Linked DNA regions of Homo sapiens: regions 2 and 3 are each linked to region 1. Evidence: promoter capture Hi-C in human tissues and cell types (Jung and others, 2019). All regions are on one chromosome and are shown on one strand. Each heading gives the region's core, a stretch centred on a gene start or on the middle of the fragment in contact. The rest is flanking DNA. Distances are from core to core; before and after follow the strand shown.

Region 1 (3,642 bases), core at 772-3,271:
AGCACGTCACACCAGAGACACATGTGTCATCAATTTCTCAGAGCTGGATCGATTATTTTTAAGCCCCTGTCCCTGCAGGAGGGCCTCCTTTTTTCCTTTCCAACTACAGCTTCAAATGTGATGTAGATGTAGTGGGATATACCCAGTCTTAGGAACCCTCAGACATCTAACAGGGCATCACTCACAGACAATGCATTCCTTTCAGAGTCTGTGTGAGTTCATCCTCTCCACCACAGGCAAGATATAGGCACCCAGCTCAGCCTGTCTCATCAAATACTTACCGAGCCCCCGTTGTGGCTGTCCATGCATACTGGACCCTGTCCTCCGGAGGAACCGCGCAATGAGAGACAGTTAATTCTCTTATCCAAGAAGGAACTGTATCAGCCAAGCTTTTATCCTTTCTTCCTTCTCCCTTTCCCCTCTGGGAAACCCTCAGCAGGCAAAAAGGATACAGCAGTCTCAACCCCAAGGAAAAGATGGTCATCAAAAGACAATTAGCTTTTCTATCTCCTAGAAACAACTGCTCTTAAGACAACCTAGCGTTTTGGAAAATGCAGCTCTGGGTGGCACCTTTCGAAGCAATAAAACATACGGCAAAATTTAAGAGGAAACAAAGAGGATTAAATACATATTTGTATTCTCAATTAAAAAAACTACGGTTCTATCATCTTAATTATGGAGTTAAACGTTAAAGAAACAAGTTTGATATCATGCCACTTTTCGTTATACTTCGAGAACGGAATGCAATAATGGTTAGTAAGAAGGAAGTAAAATGCCTGTATCAGAAGTAACAGCCCAAACCTGCTGACCAAAAATATTAACTGGGAACTAAACACCACGGTGCAGATCTCCGACATAGAAACCTGGACAGGAACACGTTTTAGGTTAGGTTTTCCAGCGTGTAAATCGGGACTCCAACACGTTTCAGCGTCCACAGCCCAATCTGACACCTTCCCTCGCACCCATCCACCACGCAATAATTTTCCTTCTGATGTGAACACGTCAAAAGTCACCTCGGGCCCCCAACTGCCCCAGATTGCTCCCGATCGCTGCAGACGCCCGGCACCCGCAGGAACTTCCCTGGCCCGGGCCGCCCGCGGCGCAGAGCATCCCGCGCGGACACTGCGCCCTCGGAAGGACACGCAGGACCGTCCAGGGCGCAGACTCGTCCCCAACGCAGTCTCCACTCCCGTGGCACAGCGTCCCCTCCCAAGGCAGCCTCCCCTGCCCGGGCCCAGCCTCATCCCGGGCGCAGCCTGCCGTCCCCCGGCGCAGCGTCCCATGCCGGGCGGAGCGTCTCCCCAGGGACATAGCCTACCGTCCCCAGGCGCAGCCTTGTTGCCAACGCAGCCTCCCGTTCCCCGGCGCAACCTTGTACCCGGGGCAGCCTCTGGTCCCCGGGCGCAGCCTCGTCCCCAGCGCAGCCTCCGATCTCCAGGGCACACCGTCCCCTCCCCAAAACGCAGTCTCGGTCCCCAGGGCGCAGCCTCGTCCCGGCGCACCTGCCCTCCCCGCGGCGCAGCGCGGCGCATCCCACGCGGACTCGGCGCCCTCGGGAGGGGACGCGGGGCCGCCCGGGCGCAGCTTCCTCCGGGAGCCGAGCGCCGGAGCAGACGGGCGACCCAGGAGGGTGGGTGCGAGGCGGTGCCGCGGCACCCTCGCTTCTCCGCGGGCGCCCTCCGCTCCCGGGACGGCCCGCAGCTCCGGCCCCACCACCAGTCCCTGCCCGGCGCTTACATAAACGCCGCCACCGCGGGGTCCGGAGCCCGCGCCCGCCCGAGCCGCCGCGGCCCCGCGCCGCCCTCACCTCAGCCGCAGCCGCGCCGCGCCTGGTCCTCCGCACGCGCGCCCCACGCTTCGGCCGCAGTCTCGCGCCGGGCGGCGCTCTGCCTCGTTGGTTGTGCGCAGCGGCGCGGCGTGGCCGTGGCCTCGCGCGGCCCGGAGCCCCGGCCGCCAACCTGGCCGCTTGGCCGCCGCTGCCGCCGCCGCCGCCGCCGCCGCCACGGCCGCCTCAGCGCCTCAGCCCCGCCGCCGGCGGCTCCGCCCCCTCCCCGCCCCCGCCGGCCCGCCGGGCGCGCGCACGCCGAGGGGGCGGGGGCGGCGCAGCGACGCCGGACGTGCGCGCGCTGGGGCGCCCGTGTCTGTCGTGGGCAGCCGGAGCTGTGGCACCTCCCTCACGACCACCTGCGGCGGACGGGCGCGGGGCCGTTGGGGCTGGAGCGCGGCCGGAGCTGAGAGACCGCGGCTGGGCGGCTCCGGAGCGTGGGGCGAGAGCGCGGGACCGGCCTGGCGTCGCGGCGCCGCCCGCCCGAGCGCGGCTGAGGAGACTCTGCCCGCCTTCGTTTTGGGGACGGGGTCTCACTGTCGCCCAGACTGGAGCGCGGTGGACCTCCGAGCTCACGCGATCCTGCCGCCTCAGCCTCCCTGGTAGCTGGGACCGCAGGCGCCCGGCGATTGGCGTTTGCGTTTTGCGGAGGTGGCGTCTCGCGGTGCTGCCCAGGCTCCCGGGCCCCCGCGCTCCTCCCTGCAGCGGGCGCTGCCCCCGCCGAGCCCCCGCCGAGCCCCCGCCGAGCCCCCGCCGAGCCCCCGCCGAGCCCCCGCCGAGCCCCCGCCGAGCCACCCCTGCTTCTCCCTCTCCCGGAGTTGCCTGGGACACGCGGGTCCCGCCGGCCCCCTCTCCCCGCCCGTCATCCTCACTGTAGACTCCGGGAGAACCAGGTCGCGGCCCAGGACCCTGGCTGGACACGGTTCCCGCCGTCTCCTGTTTAGTCCGCACTGACACTAGCAGCTGCTCCAGTTACCAACGTTTAGGTGATGGTGGTTTTGTTTGATTTTTTTTGTTTGTTTGTTTGTTTTAGGTTGATAGTAAAAGCATTTTTTTATAGCATATGCAATAGACCTACTCTTCGATTTATCTATATTTACTGACTGTTCCACAGTTATACCAAGAAATGTTTACACAGATGATGATAAGCATATGTAGAAATGCAACGTTTTCACTGACCGGAATAACCAGCTCCAGGCTGCAGTTCTCTGCACGAAGATAAAGTTTGATAGGCAAACTTGGCAGCTCCTGACCGCGGCGACCTGAGCCCAGAGGAGCAGCCGGGGGCGGTGGGCAGAGCCAGGTGTGGACAAGCGGGTGGGTCCCGCACCTGGGTGGGGGAAGCGGCAGGTTCCAGGGTCAAATTGAGGTTGTACTAGCCCTGGCCTCCAAACCTCAGGCGGCCCACTCTGCCCTCGGCCTCTTTCCTCCCTTGTAAAGTGGGGAGTAAGAGACCATCGCAAGCCAGGGATGGGGTGGCGCACACTGTGATCTCAGCCAGTCTGGAGGCTGGGGCTGGGCGGTGGGGGGGTGCGGGTCGCTTGTGTCTCAGAGCTGGAGCTGTGGTGTGCGAGGCCGAGGTCCGCGCCTATAAATGGCCGCTGCGCTCTGGCCCGGGCAACACTGAGACTCCGACTCTGGAAAACAACAAAACTTAAAAGACGAACACAGATGGAAGTTTGGGAGCCTGGTATGCGGTAAGCACTCCGCAGGTGTCAGCCGCCAGCCCGCAGTCCCGGACAGGTCAGGGGAAGGCCCGCGGTATGCAGCAGGCTGCCGGCTTCAGTCACTGCCTGGTGGAAAACAAGCCTGTCTTT
Region 2 (3,642 bases), core at 641-3,140, 82 kb after region 1:
CCAGGGCCCTGGGGACACCGGTGCCGAAGGGCTGGATCTGATGGACAGGCCAAACCCGGGCCACGGGCCACAGTACTGAGCAGGCGGGGCCCTCAGGGAGGGACGGGGCTCCCTGGGCCAGCCCTCTGCCAGCCGACCAAGACTCACCCTCGATGGTGCCCTCGACCTGTCCTCCCTCAGCAGCCTGTGGCATCCAGACCAGTTCGTGGCCCCTAGGAGGGGAAACTGAGTCCCAGCCCCAGGGTCCTCCCTCGGCTTCACTGGGTGCCCCATGGAGGAGACAGCCAGGGTGTGTCACCTGACAGGCTCACCAGAACCAGCACAGGTAGGAGGACGGGGCAGGTGGGGACAGGACAGGGTTGGACTCCAAAGGGAGGCCGGCAGCACTGTGTCCCGGGGATGCTGACAGTGGCCCAGGAGGGGTCAGATCTCCTCCCCAGCCAGCAGCAGGGCCGTATGCTGGGAACAGGACCTCGTGGTGAGCAGGTGGGAAGGAGGTGGGTGGAGATGGTGGGTAGGGCTGCCTGGAAGACTCCCCAGGGATGGCCATGTGTGTTGGGAGCACTGCTGGAAGGATGGTGTGGCCAGGAGGAAGTCCCAGGGACAGGGGTGAGGAGGCTGGGCCAAGAGCCTGGGTGTGAAGAAGTCACCCTCAGCAGGCTGGGCCCATGGGCCCGGGGGGTGCTCAGGGAGGGTGAAGGGAGATGGGGAGGAGGCTCAGGCCTGCCAGGAGCCGGGTCCTGGTGGGCAGCAGAGGGTACGGTGCCTGGCAGCGCTGAACGGGAGTGGGCGGGAGGACGTGGAGCCAGGCCAGCCTCAGTTCGGGGGTCCTGGGGCCTGTGTCCAGAGGCGAGGCCCACACAGCGGCGGGACTGGTCCTGCAGGCGCGTGGCCACAGTGGGCAGGAGTGGGGGCTTTGGGGCCCTGGCTGCCCAAAGCTTGATGCTAGCCTAGGGCCAACCAGACCCCACATTCAGGGCATACCCCACAGCGTATCAGACATCTATAGCCGTGTAGCAAATACCCCAAAACGTAGCAGCTTAAAAATGCCTCCACGTGTTAGCTCCCCCGTTTCAGGGGCAGCATGGCTGGTGGCTGTGGCTCAGGTGGCAGCCACGGGCAGCCCCTTGTCCAGGACGGGGCTCACGGGGCTGTGGGGAGGCCTCAGCCCCTGACCATGTGGCACCCCCAGGCTGCCAAGTCTCCTCCAGGTGCCAGAAGCCACAGTCTAACCCCCTAGGCCTGGAAGTGGCCTCCCTTGTGCTGTGCCCGCCATGGGCTGTGGTCACATGGGTCACCCTAAGGCCACGCGGGCAGGGCTGCACCAAAAACATCAACACGGGGTCAGGGCGTCCGAGCCACCACAATGCCAGCTCCTGCAGTGCTGGCCACGTGCCTGGCAAGGAACCCTGCACACAGACCCTGCTCTGCCCACCCCCCAGGGGTCACGAGGCACACAGACCCTGCTCTGCCCACCCCCCAGGGGTCACGAGGCACACAGACCCTGCTCTGCTCCCCCCACGGGTCACGAGGCCCTCGTCCTGCTGGGCTAGAGGCGGTGGCCTCTGCCCTCCTCATAGTGGCTACTGGGAGACCATGAGGTGGTGGCAGCAGTTGCCTGTGCGGAGGTGTGCTCAGTGCTCAGGCAGGGAAACGTGCACACACACACTCTCACACACACACACACACTCATGCATACATGAGGAGGGGCTTTTGGGGGAAGAGGAGCCCAGGGAACATGACTCCTGGCACCTTCCATGGCGGGACCAGGGGTCGGGGGTGCAGCAGGAACTCTGGCCTTGAACCCAGTGGCTCCGCCTCATCTAGGGCTGCTCTCACCAGCTGTGCGGCCTGGGTGACTCCATGGCTCTGGGTCATGGGCCGTGCTTGGTGCCTGGGGGGCCCGGCCTTCTGTGCCTCAGTCTCCCCCACCCCCTGCACAGCAGGCTAAGGGCGCCTGATCCGTGGGACTCAGGGAGCTGAGTGGGAAGATTTTTGGAAAGAACTGCCAGGGCCGGCATCAGTGAGGGCACGAGCTTCTGGCCGCCTCTGCCCTTCCCATTCCCAGCTGCCCTGCAGGTGCCCGCTGTGGCCTGGAGACGCGGCTGTGGACGCCATCTGCTTGCGCTCTCTCCCTTTTTTAGCCCGAGGCTGAGCGGTCCCTCCGGACTGGGGTGCGTGGCGCCTGGCTCTTGACTGGCAATGGAGACGCTCCCCAAAGCTCCTGGAATGTTACTGACCGCCGGGCTGGGATGGCGCTCACATTCTTCTAGGTGTGGATAGTGGAAACCAAACCAAAATATTAGCACAAGGCTAAGTTTGTTTTACAGCCTCCTGTAATATATGAGGTGCTTGTTTGGATTTTATCTAAACAACTTTCCCTGCACACCCAGCAGCTGCTGAGTTTTGGCTCCCGGACCCTGGAGCCCCTGCTGCCGAGGCTGGGGATGGCGGCTCCAGAGGTCATTCCTCCCCCGGAAGACACACGCTGGCCTTGGGCCAGGGGACCCTCAGCGACGGGGTCACCCCAATGTTCTGGAGGCTGCGGTTCTGCTTCCTCCTGGGGCTGAGCTGAGCAAGCTCTAGCTCTCGGGCCGAGCGCAAGGAGGGCAGGAGTGATGTCTCCAACTGTGCTGAGGTCTGCCCTGGGTGCAAGGGCCCTGTGTTTTCAGCGCTGCCGTGTGGCCCATGGATGCCCCAGGCCCCTGGACAGTTGATGCCTGGGGTCCACACTCCTGGACAGGGCTCTGGACAGTTGATGCCTGGGGTCCACACTCCTGGACAGGCCCCCGGACAGTTGATTCCTGGGGTCCACACTCCTGGACAGGGCTCTGGTCAGTTGATGCCTGGGGTCCACACTCCTGGACAGGGCTCTGGTCAGTTGATGCCTGGGGTCCACACTCCTGGACAGGCCCCTGGACAGTTGATGCCTGGGGTCCACACTCCTGGACAGGGCTGAGGAGGTGGTGTCCCCAGACTTGCCCCAGCACAGCTGTGGGGGGCACCCGGACACCCGCCCCGGCCTCAGTCTCCCATCCCAGCTGGCCCTGACACGGGTGCATGTGATGCCCTCCTGGTCTTGGCCTCTCAGACCCAGCTCAGCCACGGCCATCCAGACCCTTGGGCTCCGGTGTCTTCCCAAAGCTCTGAGAAGCACCCCCTTGGGGCAGCCAGACCCCTGACCACCCTCCGAACCTCGGCTGGACTCCCTGTGGCCCAGTCCGGAAGGGTTCTCCTCGGAACAGAGGGCAGATGAGGCAAGAGTCGGTCCGAGTTCTGCCCTCTGGCACCGGCAGTGCTGTGGAAGGCCCATGGGGCGGCTCAGTGGTCCCCAGGGACCTCAGCCTTCGGGAAAGTGCAGCAGAGACCTCAAGGCCCCCCACGCTCAGCTAACGTTGCCCTCGCTCATCCAGAGCACAGCCCGAGCTGCAGGAGGGCCAGGAGGGCAGATGCTCCACAGCTCGGACAGCATCCATAAGACCCGCGTGGAGAAAATAGCAAAGGCCAGTGTGGAACGGAGAGGACGTGAACGGCGAGTGCTCGGAGAACAAGCACGCCAGCAGCGAACCCAGGGGGACCAGCCCGACAGCCAGTGCGCTGAGACACCGGCCAACGGCAACGCCCCATCCTCACCGCGAACGC
Region 3 (3,642 bases), core at 671-3,170, 79 kb before region 1:
CCTATACCTCCAGGTGCTACCATGCTCTGCATCTCACAAAGGGTTGCTCTCTTTGTAAGGTGAGAGTCATGGCTGGCACCAGAGAAGGAGGCTGGTACGACAGCCGCCTGCTTCCTCCCCTTGGCCAACTGGCTCTGCTCACTCTGTGAAGGGTGAAGGTCAGGAGTTCCAGGGCTTCTCCTCCAGAAGTACTCAGGGGGAGCAGGCCTCTCTACGTTTGGACCTCCAGCTCCACAGAGGTCCCCACACCCTGTTCACCTCTATCCTGGAAACATGGGGGAGCCCAGCCTCAGACTAAAACACAGTTCAGAACTGCTGCCAGAGGACAGTGGTCTTCACATGTGCATACACGACTAAGCACAGATAAGGATGTTATCACATAGGGGACAAACAAAACACTCAGTGAGAAATACATCTGGAAATACAGGATGCTATTCAGACAGCAGGAGGGTGGGGACTGAAGGACTGCCTCTTTGTTCCCATCTCTCTCCCCTCCCACTGGTCATGAACTTAGCAGCAGTGCTGTGAGTGAATGAGGCTACAGCAGCAGCCACTGAGCACTGGCTGGGTGCAGGAAGCGCTCCATATATGGGCACTAACTGCTACTCAGAATCCTGCCCTGTGGCTCCCAGACCTCTCCCAGGTCTCGTGCTGGCAGCATCTGCCAGGGTGGCAGTGTCTGCTTGATGGGGACTCTGGCCAGTATTTAAATGGTACATTATTCTTTAGCCCTATTTTCCTGATGATTAAGCTAACCCATCTGAGGCTCACACACAGTCAACAGTCAATTATTTGCCCTGTGGAAGGCAGTAACTGCAAGTATAATCCAGGAGTGATGAAAAAAATCACTGAAATTATATTGCCACTGAAGCCAACTAAAACCCGTAACTTGCTACTACATTGTTTTCATCAAAGAATTACATTTTAAAAGGCGTACATTGTATCAGTCTTAGGGAAAAAACCATGCAATACACATGATTTACAGTACCTTAGAAATATACAGTATAAAAGACTATTTTACATCTTATAAAACTTTGCCAGTTTGGTATAAATGTGATGGCCAATCTTAATAATATCGATAATTTCAAAGGTATTTTTATTAGTTTCAAAGATAATGCTTATTACAAAATACCAACAGCGAGAACTAACACATAACATGATACTGTTTAGTAACACTCACAATGAACTTACTCACATAGGAATGACCAAGGAACACAAGCCATTTAATATGTGGGCCTCATTGTTACATCTTATAACCCTCTCAATTTCTTATAACCTTGGTCTGAAAATGCAACATATTTGAGAGTGGTTTTCCCACTGCAGAATGAGATTATGGAATGCATGAAAAAGACATTTTAAGCTTGAATCACAGTAAATTCCAAAAGAATGATGACAGAATTATTCTTGTACTTCTCAATATTTTTCCCAACTTAAATAATTAGTGATGAGTGTCCATGGGAAAAGTGGTGGTAATTCTAAATTGAGGGTATTTGGTAAAAATGTCCTTTAGTTTTTGCCTGTGCCTTTGTTTTACTCCCTATTGCCTGTCTTAGTGACATCTCAATTTCCAAAGCTTAACTGAGGAAACAAAAACAGGCCAATGCTGTGACCTCTTGAGGTGAGGGCAGAGGGGGCCGCACAGACTGGCTGTCCTGAGACCGCCCGTCAGTCCAGGAAAGCATCGAGGGTGTGGCATCCCCAGCCCTGGACACAAGCACCTGGCAGCACGGTGCACAGAGGGCCCAGGGTCAGGGGTTCCCCACTCCCAGACACAGACTTCCATTAGGTGCTGTCACCTTTGTTATATTACAAGGTACTATTACAAGATTGCTGACTTTGAGATTCATCTGTTCTTCTTCTTAGGAAGCCACACCAAAAAACCGAGGTTAATTTTACTTCCTGAAGAAACAGCCATCTCCTGCCACAGCATGTCCCAAGGGCCCTGTGGTGGTGAAGCGCTGTACTCCAGTCCTGTCGGGTGGGGGACACTAAGGGGGCGCCCAGAAGACACAGAGGCAGAGGCACTGATCACGCCTGTGTTCAGCTGTTCTCCGGGCTAGACACATCTTTTCACTAAGGCATTTTCTATTAATTATTTCATATTATACAAAGAGAAAAAAAAAACATCAACAGCTTTTAAAGCAGCAATTTAGGTCCAAAAACCAGTAGCTTGTGATGTGTATAGTCATGGACAACTTTTGAATCTGGTTTTGAGAAAAAAAATCTAGATTTTAATGACTTAAAACATTAAGTTGAATTAAAAACTGGTATTAACCTGGAGTGCAGAATGTAAGGAATTTGCTCTCCATTCTTTTAAAGGGGAAATATTTTCACAATGGTTGCTCAGCCTTGCTTTCTGCAGCATGAAGAACAGTTTTAATGTAGAAAAGTCATTAATGAAGAGTGCGGCAAAGGAAATCTCATATAAGCATCTGTCTCTGGGAGAAAAACCTTTTCTGTAGCTCAAAGCTACAAACTTTAAAGTTTTATAAATATCTTTCCAAAGACATACTCCAGACTCTGAAGCTAAATGATTTCTATTCATGTTTACAGACATGTTTTTGAATCTTCCTTTTTAAGTGCCCCTATCTAAAATTCTATAAAATGCCAACAACAAAAAAGGCACTCAAAAAGGGAAAATAGGAAGTAACTGGCATCAGCAAGATTAATTCACAAAGCCGTCTATCCCAGAAAACACTTCTGTATTGCATTAAAGACAAATGCTTCACACTGAAGAATAAAAACTAAATGAATTACCTTTCCTCTCAGAGCGCTTCTTGCGCCTCCTTTTATACCGACGCCCCATGATGCTGAAAAAGGTCCCCATGTGCAAAGGCCCAGTGGTGGACGACGCCATGCAGACACGCCAATGCCAGTCCGGCCGGCCCCAGCCTCATTCTGTCCCTCAGTCACTCGGGGCAGCAGCACACCGACTCACTTCCGTGTGCCGGCAGCTGCGACAACAGCAGCCCCTACCGACGAGGGAGCCTCCTCCTCTGCCTCGGGCCCATTCATCATGCCGCAGTTAGGCAGAACTAGGCTGAAGGGGCCCACACACCACAATGACTTCAGAGCACACCACCCAGAGAATGACATGTGACAGCTAACCGTTCAGCGCAGTCACAGTAAAACACCACGAGCAGAGGGGAGAGAACGACAGCCGTGAATCTTCTAGGGAAACAAATCTCCCACAGCAGACGTACCAAAGTCCTGTTTAAATGGAAATCCTAATACAAAAAATCTATCAATAAAAGAGTACAGTTTAGAAAATAAAACTGCAAAAAGTAACAGGCTACCACACAACACAATGCAGAGGCTCAGCAGACGCCAGCTGATGAAAACAGCTCCATATAAAGTGCAGGTGAGTGGTCAGGATGTCACCAGTGAAATCCCTGGGACAGGAAACTGCAGGCCACTGACAAATGGATCCCCCCGCCCCCAGAGAGTGCTCTTCCTCCTCTCTTAACTCACGTGTCTCGGACCAATGCTGACCTGCCTTGTTCATTACTGCAGAGCAGGGGCACAGCTCATGCCCCAGGTGAATGACACACAGCCAAGGGAGGGGCAAACGCCAACATCTTCCCATTTTCCACTGTGCCTGGCTTGATCAGCACAGCCAGTCTGTGACTAGCACAGTACCAT

Evidence for each region. Contacts are between HindIII fragments. The study calls those that stand out against the background at their distance.
Region 2: a contact is called between a fragment that was not itself captured here and the fragment with the promoter of ADARB1 in region 1, in 3 of the 25 tissues and cell types used here (H1 embryonic stem cells, IMR-90 fibroblasts and bladder).
Region 3: a fragment that was not itself captured here is called in contact with the fragment with the promoter of ADARB1 in region 1 in 3 of the 25 tissues and cell types used here (IMR-90 fibroblasts, spleen and thymus).

The regions. Positions count from the first base shown.
Region 1 is chr21:45,072,959-45,076,600 of GRCh38, reverse strand. It overlaps ADARB1 (adenosine deaminase RNA specific B1), which reads right to left and starts at 2,021. Exons shown (of 11, transcript NM_001112.4): 1 at 1,808-2,021. LOC105372836 (a long non-coding RNA gene) reads left to right here and starts at 2,860. Exons shown (of 5, transcript XR_937796.3): 1 at 2,860-3,128. It also overlaps the pseudogene SSR4P1. RefSeq lists silencers at 2,068-2,267, 2,288-2,377. The HindIII fragment of the contact is 7,799 bases long and covers 1-3,642 here.
Region 2 is chr21:44,990,587-44,994,228 of GRCh38, reverse strand. It overlaps LINC00163 (long intergenic non-protein coding RNA 163), which reads left to right and starts at 143. Exons shown (of 2, transcript NR_033840.1): 1 at 143-325; 2 at 2,394-3,642. The HindIII fragment of the contact is 4,237 bases long and covers 1-3,642 here.
Region 3 is chr21:45,151,824-45,155,465 of GRCh38, reverse strand. The region is part of intron 2 of ADARB1 (adenosine deaminase RNA specific B1); the gene reads right to left. Among named protein-coding and RNA genes, the nearest start is that of ADARB1, 79 kb to the right of the region's middle. RefSeq lists an enhancer at 3,257-3,642. The HindIII fragment of the contact is 4,613 bases long and covers 1-3,642 here.